Regions from separate parts of the Homo sapiens genome. Here all the other regions are linked to region 1. Evidence: promoter capture Hi-C in 16 types of primary human blood cells and fetal thymus (Javierre and others, 2016). All regions are on one chromosome and are shown on one strand. Each heading gives the region's core, a stretch centred on a gene start or on the middle of the fragment in contact. The rest is flanking DNA. Distances are from core to core; before and after follow the strand shown. Region 1 holds the start of RAB24 (RAB24, member RAS oncogene family). Region 2 overlaps UIMC1 (ubiquitin interaction motif containing 1). Region 3 overlaps HK3 (hexokinase 3). Region 4 overlaps UIMC1 (ubiquitin interaction motif containing 1). Region 5 overlaps UIMC1 (ubiquitin interaction motif containing 1). Region 6 holds the start of ZNF346 (zinc finger protein 346). Region 7 overlaps TMED9 (transmembrane p24 trafficking protein 9).

Evidence for each region. Contacts are between HindIII fragments. The CHiCAGO score rates a contact against its expected background, and 5 or more counts as called.
Region 2: a fragment that was not itself captured here is called in contact with the fragment with the promoter of RAB24 in region 1 in 1 of 17 cell types (monocytes); the score reaches 5.0 in monocytes.
Region 3: a fragment that was not itself captured here is called in contact with the fragment with the promoter of RAB24 in region 1 in 1 of 17 cell types (monocytes); the score reaches 5.7 in monocytes.
Region 4: a contact is called between a fragment that was not itself captured here and the fragment with the promoter of RAB24 in region 1, in 1 of 17 cell types (monocytes). The highest score is 5.6, in monocytes.
Region 5: a contact is called between a fragment that was not itself captured here and the fragment with the promoter of RAB24 in region 1, in 1 of 17 cell types (monocytes). The highest score is 5.2, in monocytes.
Region 6: a contact is called between a fragment that was not itself captured here and the fragment with the promoter of RAB24 in region 1, in 1 of 17 cell types (M1 macrophages). The highest score is 6.6, in M1 macrophages.
Region 7: a contact is called between a fragment that was not itself captured here and the fragment with the promoter of RAB24 in region 1, in 4 of 17 cell types (monocytes, activated CD4 T cells, neutrophils and 1 more). The highest score is 6.4, in monocytes.

The regions. Positions count from the first base shown.
Region 1 is chr5:177,300,990-177,304,968 of GRCh38, forward strand. RAB24 (RAB24, member RAS oncogene family) reads right to left here and starts at 2,730. Exons shown (of 8, transcript NM_001031677.4): 1 at 2,183-2,730; 2 at 2,020-2,088; 3 at 1,763-1,841; 4 at 1,588-1,655; 5 at 1,408-1,507; 6 at 1,139-1,189; 7 at 936-998; 8 at 209-818. The coding sequence starts at 2,299. The coding sequence ends at 754. PRELID1 (PRELI domain containing 1) reads left to right here and starts at 2,810. Exons shown (of 5, transcript NM_013237.4): 1 at 2,810-3,088; 2 at 3,636-3,861. The coding sequence starts at 2,997. RefSeq lists enhancers at 421-1,620, 2,785-3,662, 3,301-3,400, 3,511-3,560, 3,581-3,640 and 3 more and silencers at 2,621-2,690, 2,741-2,820, 2,931-3,070. The HindIII fragment of the contact is 8,255 bases long and covers 1-3,599 here.
Region 2 is chr5:176,952,638-176,956,520 of GRCh38, forward strand. UIMC1 (ubiquitin interaction motif containing 1) reads right to left here. Exons shown (of 15, transcript NM_001199298.2): 8 at 3,322-3,398. Among named protein-coding and RNA genes, the nearest start is that of UIMC1, 52 kb to the right of the region's middle. The HindIII fragment of the contact is 1,706 bases long and covers 1,664-3,369 here.
Region 3 is chr5:176,887,825-176,891,828 of GRCh38, forward strand. HK3 (hexokinase 3) reads right to left here. Exons shown (of 19, transcript NM_002115.3): 3 at 3,564-3,726; 4 at 3,213-3,367; 5 at 2,998-3,117; 6 at 2,811-2,906; 7 at 1,821-1,920; 8 at 1,557-1,740; 9 at 885-1,040; 10 at 508-741. Among named protein-coding and RNA genes, the nearest start is that of HK3, 9.5 kb to the right of the region's middle. RefSeq lists an enhancer at 1-92. The HindIII fragment of the contact is 6,946 bases long and covers 1-4,004 here.
Region 4 is chr5:176,918,669-176,922,501 of GRCh38, forward strand. All of the region lies in intron 10 of UIMC1 (ubiquitin interaction motif containing 1), which reads right to left. Among named protein-coding and RNA genes, the nearest start is that of HK3, 21 kb to the left of the region's middle. The HindIII fragment of the contact is 1,245 bases long and covers 957-2,201 here.
Region 5 is chr5:176,936,097-176,940,022 of GRCh38, forward strand. All of the region lies in intron 10 of UIMC1 (ubiquitin interaction motif containing 1), which reads right to left. Among named protein-coding and RNA genes, the nearest start is that of HK3, 39 kb to the left of the region's middle. The HindIII fragment of the contact is 1,499 bases long and covers 1,332-2,830 here.
Region 6 is chr5:177,018,745-177,022,968 of GRCh38, forward strand. It overlaps ZNF346 (zinc finger protein 346), which reads left to right and starts at 3,952. Exons shown (of 7, transcript NM_012279.4): 1 at 3,952-4,169. The coding sequence starts at 3,995. It also overlaps a transcript of UIMC1 not described here. RefSeq lists enhancers at 3,656-4,193, 3,717-3,766, 4,194-4,224 and a silencer at 4,167-4,224. The HindIII fragment of the contact is 917 bases long and covers 1,240-2,156 here.
Region 7 is chr5:177,593,268-177,595,767 of GRCh38, forward strand. It overlaps TMED9 (transmembrane p24 trafficking protein 9), which reads left to right. Exons shown (of 5, transcript NM_017510.6): 3 at 383-508; 4 at 872-1,018; 5 at 2,000-2,500. The coding sequence ends at 2,149. Among named protein-coding and RNA genes, the nearest start is that of TMED9, 2.3 kb to the left of the region's middle. RefSeq lists an enhancer at 141-1,340. The HindIII fragment of the contact is 1,776 bases long and covers 363-2,138 here.

The DNA of each region.
Region 1 (3,979 bases), core at 1,480-3,979:
ATGAGGATTTAAGTCCCTTTTCTAAATTAGCAGCTGAATTGGAACCAAATCTGGATCCATTAGACCTTTCTGGCTTACAGAACTTAGGACTTTCCTACCATTAAACCACATTGTAGGATGTCACTGGGAAGCTCAGGACCTGAGTCACAGGTCTGACATAGGGGCCCAAACATGACAGATGCAGTAGAGCTAGTCAGACCAACCTGTCTCAGGTAGGAATGCTTGACCCTTTTATTTCGAAGCAACTCATGCACTCTTTTCAGCACTCAGAAGGAACTGTGAGCTTTTATACTACTACAGCCCCAGTATCTCAGCGGTAACCATGGGGAAAAAAGTCTTGTTTTCCAAAGGAAAATGAGAGTTGGGAGGAGCCTTAATATAAGCAGTGAGGCCAGCCGGGTGGCCCCAGGAAGAACTAGGTGTCTTGACACCTAATCCACACAGCAGGGAAAGGGGCTGGGTGTGATGCACAGTGCACTGATTTTATTTACAGATCAAAAGCCACTTAAATAATCTGCAGACACAAGTGCTGTCCAGGGCAGAAGCCTGGGGTCCAAATCAGCCTTATCCCTCCTCATGCCCACAGTCAGCCCAATGCTGTCTCCGTTCCATGGGCCAGCACAGGCAGGCGCCACTCTGCTGACATGAGGACCTGGGGTAGCTCAGACATTTGACTACCCAAGCCCAGAAAGGAGCTGGGTCCAGCCCTTACGGGGAATTCCTTTAATTCCCCCAGGCCAGGTGAGTGCTGACTCAGTGATGACAACAGCTGTAGAAGTAGGGGTTTGGCTTCTGGCCCAGATCCACGCCCTTGTCCTCTGTCAAAAAGAGAGGTGGCAGCTCAGCACCATTCTGTTGGGATCAGGTAACTCAGGAAAGGGGCTAGATGCTGTGGGCCTAGAGTAAGTCTCCATAAAGGCTGGGGAAGCACACACCTGTCATCACCTGGAAGGCAGCCACACTGACGTAATCCTCTGCCACTTTCTGGAAGAGCTCGTCTGGCAGGAAAAATGATGATCAGCGAGGGCCCAATGCCAGTAGCCCTGGGATCTCCCAGTGACCCAGCCCTCTGTGCCCTATTCAGCTTCCTCTGGTGCCCCTGCATGTTCCTGCTGTGAGGCTCCAGCACAGCACTCACCCACACTCTGGCCTGTCTTGCTGGATGTTTCAAAGAGCTGAGCTTTGATATCTGTAAAGAGAAGTGACTAAAGCCTCATACCTGAGAATTAGATAAACAGACAAAAGGGAGGGCTAGCAGTTCAGGGAGTCTCCTGGACCCCACAGTTCAAGGAGGCCAGGAAGACCTCCTAGAGCACCTTGCCCTGGCAGCCAAGGCAGTCCCTATTTTCTTTGATCCACCCAGACAGCCACACACCCCCACCCCCCAAAGGGCTGAGGAGCAGCTACTGTCTGCATAGTCCTGGACGTCGTGGAAGTCCACACGTCGACGCCTCCGGTCTTCTTCCAGCAGGTCACTCTTGGTGCCACATAAGTAGATTTGGCAGCCCTGAGGCAGAAGACAAGGGTCACCTCCACAGGCCAACAAAACCCCAGCCCCTAGTGTTCTAGTGAGGTCTGTTCACCTACCTCCTCTAGGCTGCGCAGTTCCTTCACCCAGAACTTTGCTCGCTCAAAGCTGCTGCTGTCTGTGAGGTCTTGGTGTGCGGCATGCAGGAGACAACCAAGTGGTCAAGGGCTGTTCTCTGGCTAGCCTGGCACCCATCTTTTCTTGTGAGACAGCCCAAACCCCCCCCCCCCTTACCATAGCAGACGATGGCAGCCTTGGCACCCCGATAGTAGATTCTACTCATGGCCTCATAGCGCTCAGAGCCTGCTGTGTCCTAAAGAGTAAGGCCTGAGTCAAACTTAAGGCCACGTTCTCCAGACCCCGCTATTTTCCAGATAAGGAAACGGGTCTATGAGAAATGGGTCTGTGAGGCCACAAATCAACCAGTAATAGGCAGGACCTACACCTCCTCAGGAATGAGTCTCCCAAGAATAGATGGCCGGGGGACTTACCCAAATACCTAATGTCACAGTCCGGTCTCCGACCGACATCACCTTGGCCACGAAGGCGGCCCCGATGGTCTGCAACGAGAGGGAAGAGATCGGGGCCATAGGTGCAGATTACCGGCCCCCCACTCCCCCGCCCACCGTGCCTGGCCCCTCCGGATGCACTCACGTTCTGATAAGGCCCCACCAGAAAGCGGTCGTGCACGTAGCGCTCCACCAGGCTAGTCTTGCCCACGTACTCCTTGCCCAGCATCACCACCTTGACGTCCACGCGCTGCCCGCTCATGCTCCCGGGGCCGCTTCAGCCACGTCAGGGTCCTGAGCGGGGACGGGAGGCAAACCCCGATCTCCGCTCGGCCCAGGCAGCGCCCAAGCCTCAGACCCCGACCCCAAACGGCGCCAACCTACGACTCCAGACAGCGCGTCGGGCTCGAGCTCTGGCCGTGGCCTTGCACTTCGGCAGCGCCCCGTGTGCCCCCGCTGTTCGGCCCCGGGCGCCGATTATCCTTCGAAGACCCCAAGCCTCGGGGCGGCCTGGGAGCGCGCGGGACAGCGTCCTCAACAGCGCAGCACGCCGCCGTGCAGCTCGCTACTCCGTCATTCGCTCGCCTGCCCGGCTTAAGCTCCGTTCTGGCTGGGAATCCCAACCGAACCTGGGGTCTCCCGCAACCCGGCTCCTACCCGCAGCGCCGCGACTCCCGCGGGAGGGGGCTAGAGGGCGAGGGGGCGGGGCCGCAAGGTCACGTGGCGCGGGCGCCGGAAGCGGTGGCTACTGTGTGGCTGCGCCGGAAGTGGCGCGCGGCCGGACAACTCATGGCGGCGGCGGCGGCGGCGGCAGCTGCTTGGGCGCGGTGCGGTGGTGACTGAGCTACGAGCCTGGCGGCGGGTGTGCGCCGAGCCCCGGCCCGGCCCGGCCCTCGCGTGCCTCCCAGGCTCCGCACCCCTGATGCTGCGCGGGTGCTGAGCCCGCTTCGGCCGGGACGATGGTGAAGTATTTCCTGGGCCAGAGCGTGCTCCGGAGTTCCTGGGACCAAGTGTTCGCCGCCTTCTGGCAGCGGTACCCGAATCCCTATAGGTACGTGGTATTTGGAAGAGCAAAACCGCGCCATCTCGCTATCTGGAGATCGAATTATGGGTAACCCCCAAGTACTGGGACCAGGAAGGACTCGATATCGAATCCTAGGTAGACCTTATCGGGGAAGCGGCCAGGCCAGGCCTGCAAGGTCCTGAAGGGAGGTTGGGCCTGGGTGGTGGTTTACTTGAGACCTTAGTGTAAGATTCTTTTCTCAGTGTGGTGAGACAAGAAGAGGCGGCAGTATGGGAGTTGGGAGGGATCTTGGAGTTGGAAATCCTATTTCTCTGCCCGTGGCGCTTTCCTGGGGTGCAATAAATCATGAGGTCCATTCCTGCTAGAAGGCAGGAATCCAGGTCAGTCAGATGGCGGGAGTGGGAATTTGCCCTGGGATGGGCCCTTAACTCTGGTTTGAACCATAGCACATACCACCCTGCAAGGTTACGGGAAGGCGTGGCCTCTCTAGGCCCGGAGCCTCCAAATGGGAATCCCCTCGGGCAGTCTCTTAGGGGCAAGCTTCTGAGGGTCACCTTCACCCTGACACCTGCAGCAAACATGTCTTGACGGAAGACATAGTACACCGGGAGGTGACCCCTGACCAGAAACTGCTGTCCCGGCGACTCCTGACCAAGACCAACAGGATGCCACGCTGGGCCGAGCGACTATTTCCTGCCAATGTTGCTCACTCGGTGTACGTCCTGGAGGACTCTATTGTGGACCCACAGAATCAGACCATGACTACCTTCACCTGGAACATCAACCACGCCCGGCTGATGGTGAGACACCTCCTGTTGTGATTCTGCACCTCCCCCTCTCCCCTCCCCCCGAGATAGAGAGCTCCTCAGATACATGTGGCTAGAGAGCCATAAGGCAGCTTTTGTGGCCGGAGGCAGG
Region 2 (3,883 bases), core at 1,267-3,766, 350 kb before region 1:
TTTAAAAAGTTTGGCTGGGCACAGTCACTCATGCCTGCAATCCCAATGCTTTGGGAAGACGAGGCGGGAGGATCACTTGAGGTCAGGAGTTCAAGGTTGTAATGAGCTATGATCACACCACTGCACTCCAGCCTGAGTTACAGAGTGAGACACTGTCTCACACACACAAAAAAAAGTTTGCCAACTTCTGCTGTAGACACATATCACTTAATATAACAACAATAAAAAAAATAGTAATTATCTTTCAAAACCACCAATGTATCTGGAAAAGAAACATTACAGACTGAATGTTTGTGTACCCCCCGAACTTCGTATGTTGAAATCCCAACCCCTAATGTGATAATATTAGGAAATGTGACCTTTGGAAGGTAATTAGGTCATGAGCATAGGGCCTTCCCTCAAAAGAATGGGATTAGTGCCCTTTTATAAGGGACCCCAGAGAGCTCTCTCACCCTCTTTCCACCATGTGAGGACACAGCGGGAAGTTGTCTGGCTCTCACCAGACACTGAATCTGCCAACTCCTTGATCTTGGACTCTCCAGCCCCCAAAACTGTGAGAAATAAATTTATGTTGCTTATAACCCACTCAGTCTAGAGCATTTTGTTACAGGAACCCAAACTAAAACCAGACATTTATTTCAGAATGCAAATCCAGTAAGTTCTCTGTTATCTGACACTATACCTGCTGTACCTCTAATTAGCACTTTGCTTCACAAAACAATAAATGGCCAATGTCAGGCAAATAGGGCATCTGCAAGTTTCTAATGTATCTTCTGAATCATTAAGAAAGGATTAAATACATTTCTAGAATTAATTATATTTTAATACATCACAAATTTTTTTGAAAACTGGACACATACACACACACACACACACACACACACACACACACACCTTATTGGAAAAAGGCTTACAGGACATAAACTTCAAAATCCTGTCAACTTTCCCTAAAGGTATTTTCAAAAAGATATTCAGCATATTTAAAAGTAAGAACCATTCACTGCTTAGATTACTGCAATAATAAAAAGTCTTCAATTATGCTTTCTGTGAATGGCTGAAATGTCCAACTAAGAGGGCATTAGCTTCTCAGAAAAAAGCAATGCTAGAAGCATGCAAAATGTAGGCATAAGGCTATAATCCTGCTTCTTCAACTAAGTAACACTAAAAAGATATTGTAATCTTAAATATTAGACTCCTGAACTGTCAGAAATATGAAACAAAAGTAAACAGGTAACAGTCTACTACACTAAATATGTGTTTCACCCATTTGGAACAAATTTTTTCAGATAATTTATATATATAACTTCTAAATTATATATTTAAAAAGAAACCCAGGAGTTTGGCTTCATGGTGAAGCAGTTATACTTTCTTAGCAAAAGGAACATTAATGTAATGAATACCTTTTGCAATCTCATTTAGAAGTGGTTTATGTCAGCAAACAGTTGGACTTAATTAGCAGGCTAATGACAGCAAGTCATGATCATAAAAGCTATCTAACCTCAGTATGAAGGGCCTGCTTTTCCCTCTCATTAACTAGGCCTTTCAAGATCAATATATTTGCAGGTTCCTCCTGCAAGATCCCATGGTGATGTCACACGCCATCATCCTAAACAGACTGAGTGATTTCCTTCTAGGAAGTCAGTAGTCCCAGACAGAGGGGGAAAGCTTTCTTTTCACAAAGGTAGCACAGTATTCTTGAGTGCTCCTGCCAAAATCTGAGCACTCGGTAGTGTAGTCTCTTAGTGGGTATTGTTAGGCAGTAATCCAAACACATTTCAAATGAATTAAGGAGCCACTTTCAATAAAAACCAACATAGGCTGAGCACGATGGTTCATGCCTAATCCCCAGCACTTTAGGAAGCCAAAGCGGGAGGATTACTTGAGCTCAGGAGTTTAAGGTCAGCCTGGGAAACACACCAAGACCTCGTCTCTACTAAAAAAAAATAATAATAATAATTTTTAAAATTAGTTAGGTGTGGTGGCACATGCCTGTAGTCCTAGCTACTCGGGAGGCTGAGGAGTGAGGATCATTTGAGCCAAGGAGTTCAAGGTTACAGTCAGCGAGCCATGACTGCGCCACTGCACTCCAGCCTGGGCAAAACTCTGTCTCAAAAAAAAAAAAAAAAGAAAAAAGCCAACATAGTCCGATTTTTAAAATAAATAAAGACCTTTATGATAGACTGCCAGATGTTTAAAAATATTTATAGGTCTTTCCTAGATTACATGCAAACTAAGTTTGAGTCTCTGTGGAAAAACATTGAAGGAAACCAAAATAAGAAAACTATGATTATCTCTAATCCTTATAGGCTATACGAGACCTGAGGGAAAACCAGATGTGACTTAGGGCAACATCTGTATACTTGCTGTTCAAAGTTAAACATCAGTAGGAAGTCCCTCAATCTCACAGGAATGAGGCTAATGATCTTTTCAGAAAAGCCAGAAAGGAAAATATAGTCTAAAACAAATTCCTTAGAAAGTAGTGGTTCATATCACAAAATAATGCTTCATATTATACAATGATTCAGGAGTTTCTTAGATGGTAAGTATCTTAGTTCATTTTACATTATTTTGTATATCTAAATCTATCCATGTGCAACTTTGAATGAGCATCTCTTCTACCTAAAACAAAGTACCTATCTTTTAATTTTTACAATTAACAAAAAGCAAACTAAAGCACTTAACGAGGTTAAGCATCTTAGGTCTAAGATTAAAAATAATGACAGAACATGCACAAAACTCAATTTCTGAACCTCCTATGCAGTAAGACCCCAACAAATGGCAATATAAAAACTAACTACTAAAAGGCTGTGAAGTCCAGGCACAGTGGCTCACATCTGTAATCCTAGCACTTTGGGAGGCCAAGGAGGGAGAACTTAAGCCCCGAAGTTCAAGGCTGCAGTGAGCTATGATTGCACCACCGCACTCCAGGCTGGCTGACAAAATAATTTAAAACAATTTAATTTAAAATAATTTAAACAAATTAAATAACAAAAGGCTCTGAATGTACAGTTAAGCAAATGCTATTCCTGATGCTTTGCTGCCATCTCTGATGAGGCCTGTAAACAATCAAGAAGACAAAAAAAGTCATGTTAATTTCAAAACTAAATTACCCCTAAGGAGAGAAAAGATTGAGAATAAAAGCCAATGGCCATTAAAAACACCTATATGTGTATACGCATACGAGTGTTGAGACATGTACATACACGTATCAATTACATACAAACCTCCAGAGAGTAGGTTTGAAGAGTCAGAGGAAAATTAATAGGCATGAAAAGGTAAATAGGTATCAGAAATTCAGTAAAATCACAGTGGGGTACTTACCAGGACAAACAGTGATTTCTTCTGCAGAACTCTCTGGCATAAGGACTAAGCTTCTCTTACTGGTCAAAGCAGCAACACTGAAAGAGAACCAAATCCCAAATGAATTCCCAGTAAAATAAATCAGAACATAGAGCCAAAAGCAATGGTGAGTCACTCACAAAGCCACAGGTAATCACAGATACTTGCTGCCTAATACCACAAAAGCACAATAGGAAAGCAAGGAATCAGTACTGAAAACTCCAGACCAGAAATATGGAAAATAAATATGCTTACAACTTCAGTTCCAGTGAAATCACTGAATGAAAACAAATTCCCTTTTGGAGTTTTCACAAAGGAAGGTTGAAGGGTGAGAACTGTCTGTGAATATCAGAGAAGGCAAAAACTCCACTCCAATATAAGGATGTCAAAGGTGTTTTATAGCCTCCATCTCAGCCTTCTGAAGGCTAGAGATTTGTAAACTGACAAGAGAAGACACAGAGATTCTTCTGACAACACACTTTCTCCTCCTTTTGCAGTTAAATCTCCTCTTTATCTCAAGATGTTGCTTTCCATGCAACAAAAA
Region 3 (4,004 bases), core at 723-3,222, 410 kb before region 1:
CCCCAGATACATACAGGTGTGCCCAGCTTGGCCCCAGACCCCTAGGGCCTCCTGAAGCCCAAGGCCCCATCACTTTTTTTTTTTTATTTTTGTAGATATCGAGTCTTGCTCTCTCACCCAAGCTAGAGTGCCACGGAGTGATCATGGCTTACTGTAACCTCAAACTCCCAGGCTCCAATGATCCTCCCACCTCAGCCTCCCAGTGTTGAGATTACAGGCGTGTACCACCATAGCCAGCCTCCCCTATCACTTCAATTTGAAATCTGTTCTGTGCACCAGCCATACGCCCCCGTGTCGCCATGGCCTCCACCCTTGCACACACAAAGGGAAGCATCGTTTCTCTCCTTGGATGTCTTCTGGCCTCCCATAGCTCAGTCTGGCCCTCCCTCTGCCTAAGTGCCCTTCGTGTCCACTGGCTTGCACATGTGATCCCAGAGGGCCCTCTGGGTGTGTATCACACACACGTGTTCATGCCAACTAATCATGCGGATCACGTTTCCACAATACCTGGGGTGCCGCTCACACACTCGGCCTCCGGTGGCCACAGCAACCTGGAGTGTTTGTTGCTCCCGGCTGTGCTGGAGGCAGGAGAGAACAGCGGCCAGGGCGGCAGCACAGAGCTGGGCAGCCCGCGTGCACACGGCCGCACAGACGTGCTGCACAAGCTCAACATCCGAAGCCCCAGGGCTCAGGCCCAAGTCCTGCAGGATAGCATGGACACGGGCTGCCCCAGTAGAGGGGCTGGAGGGGAAAGGGAAGTGGTTTGGGGCTCAGCCCAGAAGCTCCCCATCCCACTAAAGCCCCATGGCTACCTTGGGAACAGAGTATCATCCCCTTCCTCCAAGCCAAGAATCCCCCACTAAACCACCATCTCCCCGACTCACTCCTCCATCTCAGCCACGTGTTCCAGGAGGATGCTGCCTTGGCTCAGCAGGGCAGGGGAGGTGCAGCCACCAAAGAGGACCCCACACCGGGCCAAGTGAGCCAGCACCAGCCGCACCAGCTCACCCAGGTACAGGCCTCCGATCATCTTCTCAAACCTGCAGGGGGGAAGGGTGGCTGGAGGAAGCCTTTTCTAAGCCCTCAGTCCACCTGGCCCTACCTCCAAGAGTTCCCAAAGAAGGATTCTTTTCTTTGGGGCTCCCAAACTGGAGACTCCAGAAGCAACGAATAGCCTCCCAGAGGACAGGTGGGTGTATGCCCAGACCCCACTGCCCCCTCTGACATAGGTTACATTCAGAAGCCTCCTGGAGAACAAGAAGGACCCAAAGGAAGGCAGAGAGCAGTTTGCTCAACCACTTCCAGCCCTCAACCCCCAAACTGTCAGGGCAGGCCAGAGTCAGGAACAGGGAAGATCAAGGGTTGACAATTCTGGATTCTAGAACTTTGGGCCCTTCCTTCTTTGAACCTGGCCAGGGCCCCCAGGTTGCTCCCTGGAGACCCTCAGAGTGACAGGGAGGGGCCTAAGGGCCTGAGAACAGGGACAGAAGGGGTTGGGAGCAGAGCAGTCATAGACAGGGCCTGGAACCAAAGGTCAGGGCCCCCTGCCAGGTCACCTCTGAGCACCAGGATTCAGGGACTCATGGTCCAGGGTATGGTCGAAGGTGGTCAGCACTGGTCCCAGCGCCCCATCATCGCTGAAGGAGCCCCACTCGACGCTGACGCAGACGCGGCCCCGGTCTTCGTCCAGCACTGCCACATGCCGTGCCTCCTCCATGTAACACGCGTTGGTGCCCGTGTCTGGCAGAGACAACCCTGTCAAGGCCTGCTAGCCAGGCAGCACACCCTCCACCTGTCATCACAAATGGTCCATGGCTCACCTACAACTAGCCCAACCTCACACGGCCTGACCCCCGGCTCACAGCCCATCATGGTGCCCACTGTGTCGTTCACCACAGCAACCACGTCGATGTTGTAGGCCTAGATGATGAAGAGGGCAGAGGTCAAGGCTGGCCTGAGTGGCCAGAGGAGGGAATCCAGGGGATGGGCAGGGCTGGGGCCCTGGCTTTGAAGGAGATACATAGAGTCCATGAAACACATGTCTGCATGCCACACACATTTGTGCCACAGATGCTCTGGGCTCCCACCTTATAGGAACTTTTCCTCCAATCCCACCCTCAGCTCCTCCCTAACCCCCAACTTGCGCCCCCAGGTCACAGTGACGTCCACCCTCACCATCTCCCAGGACCAGGATGAGTTTCCTGAGACTGAGCACCTCCTTGAACTCTGCGCCTTGCCAGCCTCACTGTCATCCTGCCTGGCTCCCCAAGCCTGTTCCTCCCAGCACTGGCTTCTCACCACAAGAGGTTAGCCCAGACGGATCAGCCTTTGTCCAGCATCCAGACTCTTGTGTGTGGCCTTCTCTGAGACTAGATCATCCGCCCCAGCCCCAGCCTGACTTGAAGGGAGGCAAACTCCTCCTTCAAGCCCCTGATCAAAGAGCCAGTGCTTCCTCCGTAGTGCTCCCAGAGTTGTCCACGCACTCCTCCTTGACACGGACAATCTTTTATTAGAATGCTTCCCCATCTAGACTGTGAAAACCTTGAGGAGGAGGTCAAAGTCTATTCATGTTTTTTTGCCCCAGGTCCTGAATGTTTATTTGACCTTTCTTAGCCTCAGTGTTTTTTAACCTATACAATGGGAATGGTAGCAACATGTACCATGTATAGGTTAAACTGGATGGAGGTTAAACTGGATGGAGGACATGAAGAGAAGAGGAAAGCAACTCTCTCAGAAGCCCAGACCCAACGCATGTGTGCCAGGCCCAGGCCAACATGGGCAGCCCTCCTGTCACCCCTCCCTCCACTCACCCCCTGCCTCCGAATGGCATCTCTCAGCAGCTGGACCACATCCTGGCCTTCCACACCACTGCACCTAAAACCTTTGGTCCAGGAAATGAGGGTGCTCTGGAGGTAGAGAAGCTGGGTTACTCCTCTGACGGCCTTCATGGGGCTGCAGCCACCCTCTACCCAGCGTCCCATGTCCACTCCACCTCACCCTGTCCAAGCCCGTCTGGTGACAAGGGAAAGAGAAGCTGAAGCCAAGCTGCAGACCCTGTTTGTTCACAGGCTGCGCATCCAGGAACTCAGACAGGCAGTGGGCAGCAAAGTCAAAGAGCTGCAGGAGAAGTGGGGGGGCTCAGCCTTGCCCATCTGAGCCCTAGCCACCCAGCCAGGCCCCCAGACCCCAGAGGCTGGGCAGTGAGTGCTTACCTGCTGGCCAGCACCCAGCATCACCTCTTGGGGGATCACAAACTCCTGGCTTCTGGGCTCCACCCTATGCCCCTCAATGCCAGTTAGAGTCACCCACAAAACACGCAGTGAGGCCCCTGTGGCCCCCAGCTCCAGCACCACGAAGTCTCCTTGCTCTGGAGGGCAAGCAGGTCACAGAAAGCCATGCAGCTGGCAAGACCAGAGCCCTCTGCCCACTTCCCAAATTCCTAAGGCCTGCAAAGTCTGGTCAAGGGGCCATAGAGATGGGGGACAGGAATAAGGAACGTTTCCCTCCCCTAGATCAGTACCCTCTTCCAGGCCTGGCCACGCATCTCAATCTATGATACCCACCAGTGCCATGTGGGGTGGACCCCACGTATGTAGGCAGCATCCGGACCGCAGGGGCAGGGCTGGCCTGTCCCCTCAGCGCCTGCTCCATGGAACCCAAGAGGCTGGCTTGGATCTGCTGTAGCTGTGCCCTTGTCACCTTGAACTGCTGCAGGCACTCCTGCACCTGGGGAGAAACAGGCCAACATCTGGGAAGGAGCACCATTGGGCTGGCCAGACTCCCCACCTCCAAACAAGGCAGAGGCCTGCCCTGCCCAGCCCACTCCTCGGCTCTTCATACACCCTGACTCTCTTGCCAACAGCCTGCACCCAGCTCTGGCATCCTCAGAAGGCTCTGTCCTGGAAAGAGAACCCACCTTCTTCCTCCTCCTGCCCCATTACCTCACGGCTCCTTCTCAATTTCTTACATCCTCTACCCTACCCCTCCTCTTCTTTGAATTCAGG
Region 4 (3,833 bases), core at 329-2,828, 380 kb before region 1:
AGCCCCACTAGGACATCTAATCCTATACTATCATCTTTTCACGATTACCCTGTCATATCTTCGCATTCCTTCTTGCCTTAGTTTACATAGTTATCATATTAACACTCCCCTTGAATATTCCCTCAACTTCTTTCTACTGTACTTACTTGCGCAATCCGACTTTGGTTAAATACAGCCCTCCTACTTATTAGGTGTCCCTATCTGCTGAATGTGACAGGAACAAAAACACATACAACGTGCTGACTGGCCTCACTTTTTATTTAAGATCAAAATCTTAAGTGGTCCCTCACTACTGCTAGCAATCTTGACATATTTTCCTAGTCGGTTCATTCTTCCATCCTCCCAGGTACTATTTCACATCTTCTCTGCTATTCTCAAAACTCTAATATCCATTCCGATTCCTGTATCACTATTCTTTTTTATTTAAATATAACTTCACTGAGATATATTCATGTACCATATAATCCACCCATTTAAAGTCTATGATTCAATGGCAAGTACCTGGGAGGCTGAGGTGGGAGGATTGCTTGAGGTGGAGAGGCAGAGGCTGCAGCGAGCCAAGGTTCCACTACTGCACTCCAGCCTGGGCAACAGAAAGAGAGTTCTTTATATATTCTGGATACTAAACCCTTAACATACATATGATTTGCAAATATTTTCTCCTATTCTGTAGGTTGTCTTTTCACTTTCTTGATAGTGTCCTTTGATGCACAGAAGTTTTAAATTTTGATAAAGTCCAATTTATCTTTTTCTTTTGTTGTTTGTGCTTGTGGTATTATATCTAGGAATCCACTGCCAAATCTAAGGTTGTGAAGTTTTATCCCTAAGATAGTTCCCCTGACTCGCTGAGACAAGGTGTCAACTGTGTTGCCCAGGTGGGACTCTAAGGATCCTCCTGCCTCAGCCTCCCAAGTAGATGGGACTTACCAGTGTGTACCACTGTAGCTGCCTATAAAAGCTTTATGACTTACATTTAGGTCTTTGATCTATTTTCATACGTAGTATAAACAAGTGGTCCAACTTCATGGTTTTGCAAGTGGATATTCAGTTGTCCCAGCACTACATATTGAGAAGACTGCCTTGTTTTCCCCCACTGAATTGTCTTGACATTCTTCTCAAAAATCAATTGCCCACAAATGTATGGTTTTACTTCTGGACCCTCAATTCTATTCCACTGAACTGTAATGCCTACCTCTATGTCTTAATTAGTAAGTTGTAAAATTGGAAAGTATGAACTCTTAACTTCGTTCTTTTTCAAGACTGTTCTATTCTGTGCCCCTTGTATTTTGGTATGAATTTTGGGACCAACTTGTCAATTTACAAAAAAAAGTTAGCTGGGATTTTTGTGGGGTTTTCTTGTTTGTTTTTTTGAGAAGGAGTTTCGCTCTTGTTGCCCAGGCTGGAGTGCAATGGTGCGATCTTGGCACACCACAACCTCCGCCTCCTGGGTTCAAGTGATTCTCCTGCCTCAGCCTCCTGAGTAGCTGGGATTACAGGCATGCACCACCATGCCTGGCTAATTTTTTTTTTTGTATTTTTAGTAGAGACGGAGTTTCTCCACATTGGTAAGGCTAGTCTCGAACTCCTGACCTCAGGTGATCCGCCCACCTCAGCCTCCCAAAGTGCTGGGATTACAGGCGTGAGCCACCATGCCCAGCCTAGCTGGGATTTTGAAAAGGATTTGAAATCTGTAGATCAACTTGGTGAATACTGCCATCTTCACAACATTAAGTATTCTAAACCATGAACAGGAAATACCATTCCATTTATTTAGGTCTTATTTAATTTCTTTCAACAATGTTTTATAATTCTCAGAGAAGTTTTTTATTTCTTTTGTCAAACATATTCCTAAGTATTTTATTATTTTTGATAGTATATTAAATGTAACTGTTTTCTTAAATCCACTTTCAGATTGTTCACTGCTAGTGTACAAAAATACAGTTCATTTTCTATATTGACCTTGTATCCTGCAAACTTGCTAAACTCGTTTATTAGTTCTAAAGGCTTGTTTTATTTCAGTGGATTCTCTAGGATTTTCTATATAAAAGATGTCATCTGATAGAGTAGTTTACTTCTTCGTTTCCAACCTGAATGGCTTTTATTTCATCTCTTTCCTAACTGTCCTGGCTAGAACCTCCTTTACCACGTTGAATGGAAGTGGCAAGAATGAACATCCTTGTCTTGTTTCTGATTTTGGGGAAAGCTTTCAGTCTTTCACCATTAAGTATGATATTAGCTGTGAGTTTTTCATAGACGCCCTCTATCAGGCTGAGGAAGTTCCTGTCTATTCCTAGTTTGCTGAGTATTTTATTGTCATGAAGGAGTATTGAATTCTCTCAAATGCTTTTTCTGTGTCCATTTAGATATCGTGTGGTTTTTGTCCTTTGTTCTATGATACAGTATATTAACTGATTTTCTAATGTTAAACCAACCTTTCAGACTTTTTTGATGAGAAAAAAGTAGTACTTGAGAGAACTTCTACACTCTTCCACCACCAAAAGTATTAGTCTATCTGCATCTGTACCCATATCCTCTGCCTTCCCTCCTATTGCACAGAATGAATTGCCCACACGGCTATCTAAGGCTCACTTTTCCATTTGATCCTGAATCTGAACGCTTCTTGCTTAATTAAGGATTCCCCTCCTGCCATCATCTCTCCTGAAACATCAATTTTTCCCTCTTTTTTTAGATCATTCCATCAGCATACAAATATGCAGTAATATTTCCCATAAGGTTATTTCTAGACTTGTATATCCTGCTGTCTGCTCAACATCTTCATTTGGTTATTCACTGGGCATCTTAAAATTATGTACAAAACCAAATTCTTAATTTCTTCCTCCAAACCTGTTCCTGCCCCAGTGTTCCCGCTCTCAAACAACGAAGTCATCATTAACCCAGTTGCTTGGGGCAAAACCTTGATTTCACCTTAGTCTTTCTTGTTCTCTCACACTCCAATAAATCCTGTAGGTTCAACCTTCAAAACATTCCCAAATCTGACAACTTCTTTACCTCACAGCTACCTCTATGGTCAAAGCAAACATCAGATCTTCCCTGGAATAATGCAACAGCCACTCCCCTCCACCCCTGCTTAGTCTCCTCAATTCCATTTTTGCCCCATCCCTCTATAGATTATTTTCCACATTGTAGCCAGAGTTAGATTACATCATTCCCTCGTTCTCAACCCCCCTATGGCTTTTCATCATATTTGGAATGAAGTACAAAAACCTCACCTCACATGATCTGACCACTGTTTATTTCTTCTCTCCTTTCCCCCTGTCGCTCAATCTAATTCAGTCATTGTGTCTTTCCTGCAGCTCTAAGAAACATGCCAAACACACTCTTGCTTTAGGGCCTTTGTATTTATTCCCTGACCTAGAATGACTCTATTCAAATATCACCTCAAGAAGTCTCCCTTGATCTTTCTCTTTAATCGAGCCCCCTTTTTCCTCTGTTCTAGTCACTCTCCATCCCCTCTTCTTGCCTTGTTTTTCTTAAATTGTATTTATTATCTGTTTCCCTCACAAAAAGGTAAGCTTTATAAGAACACTGACTTGTGTTTAGTACTGTACCCTCAGCTTGCAGAACAGTATCTGCGTTATAGTTGCTGCTAAATAAATACCAACTGGGTTGTCAGTAAGGAAGTACAAGCAATAGTTAAACAACACAGTGATCTTCTGAATTACTCAGAGGGGCTTTCTAAGTTGAGTACCCTACAATTGGCTTAGCCAGAAACCTGAGTTAAGATTGCCTTCTCTCATCTTGACCAGTCACAAGGTTTGCTTCTCTCACCAAAAGATTCTCAAGTCCGTCCACTTCTACTAACACTGCTTTAT
Region 5 (3,926 bases), core at 831-3,330, 370 kb before region 1:
TTATCTTTTATGTCTCACCATCACACAGAAACACAGACCTCAGAAAGACTACACAGATAGGAAAGCACAGTCAATAATAATAGCAGCCACCATTTATTGCATACCTATTACATGCTAGTCACAATGCCTGGTACTTTACAAAGTGTCTGTGATTCTCATGGCAATCCTCATACTAATTTTACAAATGAGGAACCTGATCCTGAAAGAGATAACTTGTCAAATATTAGCCAGTTAGGAAATATTACAGCTGAGCTGCCTAGTTCTAAAACTGACATTTCTTCTACTTTATCATAGTGCCAAAAACAAAATATTGACTCTATTTTCCCAGCTTTCACCCTTGTCCCACAACCCAGTAATCTACTGTCCACATAGTAGCAACCAGAGTGGAGTGATCCTTTGCTTAAATATTATTCTTTGCTCAAGTCCCTCCAGTGGTTCCTCCCTTGCTCAAGGAAAAGCCAAAGTCCTTATTATGGCCTAAGAACCCTGTGCTCTGTCCATCTGCACTCCTCCCCGTTACCTCTCTGGTTTCACTGTTTATCTCTCCCTTACTTACTCTAATCCAGCCACATTCAACCTGTTCACACCTCAGGGTTTTTGCATTTATTGTTCCTTCTACCTGTAGCACTCTCCCCACCTCACAATCTTCTTAGTTTATTCCCTCACTTACTCTAGGCCCCTGTTCAAATGTCATCTTCTCAAGGAGACCTTCCCTGATCACCTATTTTATATTGCTACCTCCTGAGACCTCGGTATTCCCTATTCCCCTCTCCCTCTGCTTTACTTTTTTCTCTAAAGTACTTATCACCACTTGAAATATTGTATATTTACTGTTTTCTTGTCTGCCTCCCACTACTAGAAAATAAGCTCCATGAGAACAGGGACTTATATTCTGTTAATTGTATATTCTGCTCACTGTATCTGTTATATAGTAGGTATACAATAAATACGTATTGAATGAGTAAATGGGGGCTTTTATTCTCCCTAGGTGTCTAACACAATTGGCCTTAGATACATTTTCCAGAAAGTAAATGCAAAGGCAACGTGCATTTGTTCTAGTCTAGATCAACGTAGTCAATCTTCTCCCCTCAAACATTACCTTTAAAGAGCATTCCCTCGGCCAGGTGCGGTGGCTCACGCCTGTAATCTCAGCACTTAGGGAGGCCGAGGTGGGCAGATCATGAGTCAGGAGATCGAGACCATCCTGGCTAACATGGTGAAACCCCATCTCTGCTAAAAATACAAAAAATTAGCCGAGCGTGGTAGCAGGCGCCTGTAGTCCCAGCTACTCGGGAGACTGAGACAGGAGAATGGCATGAACCTGGAGGCAAAGCTTGCAGGAGCCGAGATCGTGCCACTGCACTCCAGCCTGGGCGACAGAGCAAGACTCTGTCTCAAAAAATAAAAATAAAAAAAGAAACAAAAGCATTCCCTCTAATTTTTCATAGTTCTGAATAGACAACGTCATTGAGCAAAAAACTGAGTAGACTGAGCCAACTTAACCAGTGCGTAGTATTATAATCAAAACTTACAGCAAAGTTAGTCAGACATATATTTAATGATATGCATAATTGTTATTGTGCTGCACGGTAAGTAGGCATAAATAGTAGACACTTTATGTAAATGATTCTAATTGCTATTTCTTTTACACAGCCAAACCAAGCACGTCTAGGATCCGCTTCAGGGGAAGACAGGAAGGAGTGAAAAGCTAGATACTTAATACTGGGAGGTTACGTCCTCTCTTATTCCACCCCTTAAGCATTGGGCTAATGGTCTCCCAGCTTGGCTTATGTGTCTTCAAGAAAAGTAACTTGCCAGGCATGGTGGCCTAGGCCTATAATCCCAGCACTTTGGGAGGCCAACGCAGGAGAATCACTTGAGCCCAGGAGTTCAAGACCAGCCTAAGCAGCATAAAAAGACTCCATCTCTACAAAAAATAAAAAATTAGCCAGGCGTGATGGCATGCACCTGTGGTCCCAGCTACTCGGGAGGCTGAGGCAGAAGGATCACTTGAGCCTGGGAGGTTGAGGCTGCAGTGAGCCATGATTCCACCACTGCCCTCCAGCCTGGGCTACAGAGTAAGACCCTGTCTCAAAAAAAAAAAAAAAAAAAAAAAGGGAAAATTACTTCTTTCCTTCCACAGTAAAAAAAAAAAAAGGCTTCCTTTTACAAAAGATTTTAAAACTAGGTTGGGAGCCTGGCCTCTGTCTCCAGTCATATAAAGCTAAGAGGAACCAGCACAATCACTAACTTCTGTCTCTGGCAAGGAAGATGGGGCAGGCAAGCTGGTGGGGAAACCAAGTAAAGAGATCAAACGTACTGAGTACCTATTGTACACCAAGTACACTAGCAGGTGCTCTGCATAATTCCTCTACTTCCCCAACCCACCTATACCCCCAAGCTCTGTTCCCAGGAAAGTAGAGGAACATGCAGAGAGTAGAATGGTTCCAGTGAGGGCACCCTGCTCCCTCTCATAGGGCCTGAAAAATCAACAGAGAGCTCTCTTAGGAAGATTAAGACGAAGCTATTGTTTAGTGGCCATTTCCCTTGCTTCTTATCTTATCTAAACCCATAGGAGGGGAAAGGGCCCTCTACCTTGCTATGGGTTTATCCAGACCTAACCAGCCTGCAAAGCCAAGGCTAAGCCCACTCTTTCTGGGATCTCATCCTTATTCACTGCAGCTCTCCTTTCTCCCATTGTCAGGGACATTTACTTGGGTACACAATTATTCACTTGTGTCATCTTTTAATTAATTTCTTGGGGAAATGCTTATTTCACCATTGATAATGCAAGCTCCTTGAAGAGAGAAATCTTAAAACTTCTTTAGTAAGCTTCATAAGGCCTAGCACCATTTAAAAAAAAAAAAAGTGCAATGCCAGGCAAGGTGGCTCACACCTGTAATCCCAACACTTTAGGAGGCCAAGGCGGGATGCCTGCTTGGGCCCAGGAGTTCAAGACCAGCCTGGGCAACATGGTGAGACCCTTTCTCTACAAAAGAAAATATAAAAAACTAGCCAGGCGGGGTGGTGTGTGCCCATAGTCCCAGCTACTCATGAGGCTGAGGTTGGAGAATCACTGGAGCCCAGGAGGCAGAGGTTGCAATGAGCCGTAATTGTATCACTGTAATCCAGCCTGGGTGACAGAGTGAGATCCTGTCTCAAAAAAAAAAAAAAAAGAAAAAAAAAGAAAAGCTCCAAAATATCTGGATGAATTAAAGGTAAATATGAAGTAATAGGTGATAGAAAAGAAGCAAACTTCTGGCTCTAGGTAGACACATTGGCATTGAAAAGAAGGATGTAGTACAGTCATGTGCCACAAAAAGACATTTCAGCCAACAACGGACCATCTATATGATGGGGGTGCCATAAAATTATAATACCATATTTTTACTATACCTTTTCTGTGTTTCTATGTGTTTAGATACACAAATACCATTGTGTTACAAGTGACTACAGTGTTCGGTACAGTAACACACTGTACAGGTTTGTAGCCCAAGATCAATAGGCTATACCTTATAGCCTAGGTGTGTAGTAGACTACACCATCAAGGTTTGTGTAAGTATACTCACTCTATGATGTTTGCACAACAAAATCACTTAATGACACATTTCTCAGAACACATCCCCATCACTGAGCAACACGTGACTATATTCTAAATTTGTCTTCTAAACTAGTTTTTATAACAAATTTCCCTATGAAAAAGAAAGTGTGACTGTCATTCAGGATATAGCAGACATCTTCACATGGAGGTCTGGGGTATTCGCATCAAAGCTATAAAGACATATGATGCCGAGAATACAGGGACTTTCTATTATATCAAAAAGCACATTTACATCTATCATGTCTGAAAGTCTGCGATATCCAGAGTGTAAATCCAACTGAACAGCATTAGACGGGGTCACTGATCCTGGACACAGCAGAACAAG
Region 6 (4,224 bases), core at 448-2,947, 280 kb before region 1:
CCTCAGCAGGGTAGCTCAGGACTCTGCCTCCATGGCACAGGGGATGAACCCTGACAGCACTCATTGGAGAATAAATGGACATTATTTTGAGCATGTAATTGGATTGGAGGTTGTTTTCCAATAATATGCAAAGCAACTTATATACTCCACTCCCAGTATTTGTTACATAGTATTAAAAATATCCTTGTGGGTTCTGCGACTTCGACAAAAATCCCCTGTATCCCTTGGATTATCCCTGAATAACTTATGCTATATGCAAGTGTAAGTAACTAGAACTCTTAAGATAAATAAGTAGTTTGTGACCATCCTGGCTAACATAGTGAGACCCCGTCTCTAAAAGTAAATAAATAAATAAAAAGAGAATAAATAATGTGCAGTCACTGACTTTTAGGCTGGTCATCTGGTTTTGGCAAAAGGACATAGATTTGCAATCTAAGGACCAGTGTTCAAGCATGGGCTCGTACCTAACTAGCTGTGTGATCTTCACAAAACCTTTACCTTTCCTAGTCTGTTTCTTTATCATCACTTATGAAGAAATCCCTCACAGAAACCACCCTGAGGATTAAATGCTATAATGTAGGTGCTTTGCAAACTGTAAAGCACTGCCCTGGGCTGGGTGTGTGGTTCACACCAGGAATCCCAGCACTTTGGGAGGCTGAGGCAGGAGGATCGCTTGAGCTCAGGAGTTTGAGACCAGCCTGGGCAATATAGGGAAACCCTGTCTCTACAAAAAAAAAATTTTTTTTAATTAGCTGGGCATGTTGGTGTCCACTTGTAGTCCTTGCTACTCAGGAGGCTGAGGCTGGAGGATCACTTGAGTGTGGGAGTTCAAGGTTACAGTGAGCTATGATCATACCACTGCACTAGTGAGACCCTGTCTCGGAAAAAAAAAAAAAAAAATTGTAGGCTGGGTGTGGTAGCTCATGCCTGTAATCCCAGCACTTTAGGAGGCCAAGGCGGGCAGATCACCTGAGGCCAGGAGTTCAAGACCAGCCTGGCCAACAAGATGAAACCCCGTCTCTACTAAAAATAGAAAACATAGCTGGGTATAGTGATGGATGTCTGTAATCCCAGCTACTCGGGAGGCTGAGGCAGGAGAATTGCTTGAACCCAGGAGGTGGAGGTTGCAGTGAACTGAGATGGTGCCACTGCACTCCAGCCTGGGCAACAGAGACTCCGTCTATAAAAAAAAAAAAATTGTAAAACACTGGCCAAACATCAGTCACCTACTGTATTGGAAGCTTGGAAGCTCTAGGGCCTGAGGCCTGACATAGTGCTGGTGCTCAATATTTGTAGTATAAATAAGGAAATACTTGTAGTATAAATGACTAAATTACACCAATGAGCTATATGATCTCAAGCAAGAATAATTCATATCTGTCTCTCTTTGGCCTCCTCTGATATTACTTTCCTCCTTGTTCACTGGGCTCCAGCCATGCTGTCGTTTTTCCTGTTCCTCCAACACATCATGCTCTCTCCTGCCTCAGGGCCTTTGTACCTGCTGTTCTCTCTGCTAGAACACTCTTGCCCAGCTCTTTGCATGGCTACGCCTTCTCATTAATCAGGTCTTAGCTCAAATGTCATTTTCCCAGAGGCTTCTCCTGATGCCACCCTGATTAATGTTCCTAACACATCATTCACCTGAGATGCAATCCTGTTTTATCTTCTCCTTAGCACTTATTATTGTTAACTTTTTTTGTTTTTGAGATGGAGTCTCGCTCTGTTGCCCAGGATGGAGTGCAGTGGCACGATCTCGGCTCACTGCAAGCTCCGCCTGCTGGGTTCACACCATTCTCCTGCCTCAGCCTCCCGAGTAGCTGGGACTACAGGCGCCCGCCACCACGCCCGGCTAATTTTTTTGTATTTTTAGTAGAAACGGAGTTTCACCATGTTAGCCAGGATGGTCTTGATCTTCTGACCTCGTGATCCACCTGCCTCGGCCTCCCAAAGTGCTGGATTACAGGCATGAGCCACTGCGCCAGGCCTACTGTTAACTTTCTTATTGTACTCTCCTCCACTACAATAAAAAATACTTTACTACAGCTTCCCTGTCTTGTTCACCACTATATTTCCATGCTCAAAATATCATCTAGCTCATAGTAAATTCTCCATAAGTATTTGAAAAAATGAGGTTGAAATAAGCTAGTAATATTAAAAGCTTCATTCATTAAACAAATGTTTTGTATATACCTAGGAGGGTCCAGGTTCTATTTCAAAGTGCTGGAGATTCAGGTGCAATGACAAGAGACAAAAGGCTACGCAAGGTGGCATGTGCCTGTAATCTCAGCATTTTGGGAGCCCGAGGCAGGCAGATTATGAGATCAGGAGTTTGAGATCAGCCTAGCTAACATAGTGAAACCCCGTCTCTACCAAAAATATAAAAATTAGCTGGGTGCCGTGGCATGTGCCTGTAATCCCAGCTACTCAGGAGGCTGAGGCTGGAGAATTGCTTGAACCCGGGAGACGGAAGCTGCAGTGAGCCGAGATCGCGTCACTGCACTCCAACCTGGCGACAGAGCAAAACTCTGCCTCAAAAACAATTTAAAAAAAGAAAGAAAAGAAAAGAGACAAAAATCCCTGCCTTCCTGGGGCTTGCCTTCTAGTCGGGAGACAGACAATAAGCAAGATAAAAGGTAAAATATAAAAGAAATAAAGCAGGAAAGAAGGACATGAAGTGTGTGTGGAAAAGTAACATTTTAGATGGGATAGCCAGACAAGGTATTTTAGATAGAGTAGCCAGAGAAGGAAGTGGGAGACTGAGCCATGAAGATATATGAGAGAAATTCACCCCAGGAGGCCTGGATAACTGGGACAGGAATTAAGGAGTTGGGGACTGAGTAACACATCAGGATCAGGGAGGTTAAGGGAAGTCAGATTGTACAGGGCCTTGTTGGTCGAAGTAAGGACTTTGGCTTTTTTTTTTTTTAGTCGGAGTTTCGCTCTTGTTGCCCAGGCTGGGGTGCAATGGCGCCAGCTCGGCTCACAGCAACCTCTGCCTCCCGGGTTCAAGCCATTCTCCTGGCTCAGCCTCCGAGTAGATGGGATTACAGGCATGTGCCACCACACCCGTCTAATTTTGTATTTTTAGTAGAGACGGGGTTTCTCCATGTTGGTCAGGCTGGTCTCGAACTCCGGACCTCAGGTGATCCGCCCCCCCTTAGCCTCCCAAAGTGCTGGGATTACAGGCGTGAGCCACCGCGCCTGGCCGGACTTTGGCTTTTACTAAGAGTGAGATGGGAAGCTGTTGGAGGATTTGAGAACCTAAGCGTCATGATCTGACTTGTCATAAGAGGATTCCTGGAACTGCTGTGCTGGGAATGCCAGTGAGGTTGCTACTACAATAACCTAGGCAAGAGATGGTGGCTCCCAAAGACACGGGAAGGAGCAGCTCTGGGGTTGGAAGATAAAATTTGGGGTCTGACAGCTACATTGGAGAAGCCTATTAGCCATTCGAGTGAACTGTGGAAGAGGCAACTGGATGTATACAGGTCCGGAGTCTCGGGGAAGATCAGAGCTGGGAGCTGGCACTTGGAACTCAACAAATAGTATGTATTATTAGCAGTAATATGGAACCTTAGCTGTACTACTACTTACTAGTAGCGAGCTCTTGAGTTAACCATTTTTAGGTTCTGGGCCTCAGTTTCCCTGTGAATGAAATGGCGAAAACACTCCCACATAACGGGACCTTGAGAACGAAATGAAAAGTATCAAGGGCTGACCGTGAGCAAGGTGAGAGCCATGAGCCAAAACCACACGAGCCTCTCCGGGAGGGGGGGGTCACTGCTGCGGAATCAGCGACAGGTTTCCGAATCCACGGCACACGCTCTGAGGTACCAGAGGTAGCAAAGCAAAATAAGCGCGGGGTCCCGCACGGCAGCGCGGGTGCAGCGCCCAAACCTCGCGAGATTTGTTGGCTGGGCCAAGTACCACCCACCAAATCTCGCGATACCTAGGCGCCTGAGAGGCTCTCTACCGGTGAGGGTTTGCGGGGAAGATGGAGTATCCCGCGCCGGCCACGGTGCAGGCCGCGGACGGCGGAGCGGCCGGGCCTTACAGCAGCTCGGAGTTGCTGGAGGGCCAGGAGCCGGACGGGGTGCGCTTTGACCGCGAGAGGGCGCGCCGCCTGTGGGAAGCCGTGTCCGGTGCCCAGCCGGTGGGTAGAGAGGAAGGTGAGTCGGGGGCTTTGGAGGCAGAAAGCCCCTCGCCCGCTGCGCGGCTCGCGGG
Region 7 (2,500 bases), core at 1-2,500, 290 kb after region 1:
GTGAGCTGAGATAGCATCACTGCACTCCAGCCAGGACGACAGAGTGAGACTCTGTCTCAAAAACAAAAACAAAAAAGAACCCCCCAAAAAACAACTCACACCAAAAAAGTTGAAAGGGCATAAGCTATAAAGGAAAGCCCTTCCCAAGAGCAGTCAGTCACTTGCCACCCTAATGTCAGACTCTCAGAGTCTAAACACCTGCCCCAGAGAGTTCTCACACAAGCATATGGCAACAGCTGCTGAGCAGCTTTGAATCTTTCAGTGTTGTGAGGTGCGAAAGGCTGTGCCTGTCAACTTTTGCAGTACTTAGAGCCTTAAGCACTGTTTTCCTCCATTCCCATCCCTACCATAATACTGACTGAAGCTTGTTACCTTCCTCCAGGTCATCCTGGCCCGGCAGTATGGCTCCGAGGGCAGGTTCACTTTCACTTCCCATACCCCTGGTGAGCACCAGATCTGTCTTCACTCCAATTCCACCAAGTTCTCCCTCTTTGCTGGAGGCATGCTGGTAAGTGGGCCCATGTGAGACTTGCAGGTTTCAGCCTTCATCCTTTGGTGAGGACTGGGGGACTGGTGGTGCTGTGGGTGTGAGAGGATTATGTCAGATTTTGTGTCTCCTAAGAACACTGGGTTTCCACTGGATGTCCAGGACACAGTGACTGAGCTCTTTGTACATGCCTCACTCAGAGCACCAGCCCAGGCTTAATACTTGCTTGTGTGCCCAGAGCCTCATGGGGCTAAGACACTGAAGAGGGCCCAGTCTGTTGGCTAAATGAACAGATGAAGGAAAGTCGGGGATGAGCTGTCAGTCTCTGGCAGGAAGATGGAGCAGGGCTACCAGATTTCCCTTATCTCCTTTGTCTGTCCTCAGAGAGTTCACCTGGACATCCAGGTAGGTGAACATGCCAATGACTATGCAGAAATTGCTGCTAAAGACAAGTTGAGTGAGTTGCAGCTACGAGTGCGACAGCTGGTGGAACAAGTGGAGCAGATCCAGAAAGAGCAGAACTACCAGCGGGTGAGTGACTGGGCCGGGAGCAGTGGGCTTCTCCCTAGAAGCTGCCCACTGGCTCAGCCAGGAATTTCACATTAAATTCATTCTGAGACCCCCAAGGGACTTACCTGCACTGCATTGTAGGTCGTGGGGCGGGTATTACTAACTCGACCTTGTAATTGAGGATACAGACTCGTAAGAGGCTGTCATTGCCCTAAATCACAGTTACACACAGAATGGCACAGTAGCATTTGATACCAACACCTTGGGTGCTGTTTCAGTGGGTCCACATGCTCCCAGGACCAGGGTCTCAAACTTACCGGTGACCAGGAACCAGAGATTACCATAAGTGAATCTGTGACCTTAAGGACTAGTAGGGCAGTGACCCATCTAAACAAGCACAGCCACTGTTCAGTGTCACCTGGGGGCTTCCTTGCAGAAATACCAGCCCTGGCTTTACAGATGTTCCATTTTTTCAAGAGGAAATAGGATTTTTATGCGAACATTTTAATTTATTTTTTATTTTTTTCTATTGCTGCTGCACAAATTACCTGTGTTTTAAATGTTGACAAAAGACTGTGCACTGTGTGAGGCCAACAAAACATACCTAAAGGCCAGATCCAGCCCCCAGCCTGCCAGTTTACAGCCTGTGCCCACCATCTTCAAGGAGCAGTGTGGGAGACCTAGGCAGAGGGCTTAGAGCAAGTCCACTCCTGTGTGCTCCAGGACAGCTCTGCCTCGTGGGGTGATACCACAACTACCTTACCTCTCTCCCAGGCACCAGGGCAGGACTAGGTGAGGGCTATGCCTGACAGATGAAGAAACAGACTTGGGAGAATGAGTAGGTTGCCTGAGGGTAAAGATAGTCCCCAGGTAGAGTGACACTTTGCAGGCACTTGGCTGGAACCTGGGCAAAGCTGGCTGACCTTGGGCATCCTCTTGGTCTGGGAATCAGCAGTTCTAGCAGCCCCAGCCAACTCAGGCTCACCTTATATTCCCCTGCAGTGGCGAGAGGAGCGCTTCCGGCAGACCAGTGAGAGCACCAACCAGCGGGTGCTGTGGTGGTCCATTCTGCAGACCCTCATCCTCGTGGCCATCGGTGTCTGGCAGATGCGGCACCTCAAGAGCTTCTTTGAAGCCAAGAAGCTTGTGTAGCTGTCCCAGGCGTCACAACCCATCCTCCCAGGCTGGGGGAGAAAGGACCTCCTGGAACTGACTTCTTCTGTCAGGAGGACTGGTTTCCAGCCATACCTGTTCTGGAAGGGAGAGGGGCTGGAGGCACCCACAGGCACAAGCTGAAGGCAGCAGCTTGGCTAATACTGAGCAGGTAGTGGGGCAAATTCCTGCCCTCTCTCTCTGGCCTCTGGGCCGTTTGGTAGTAATCACCCAAGGGCTGGTAAAGCCCCTCCTCTTGGCACCTCAGAATCACAGTGTTACTGATCAGGGATGTGAGGCTGCTGTTGGGGGTGGGGGGAGGGGAATGGGCAGGCAAGCCAGTCTTCTGTC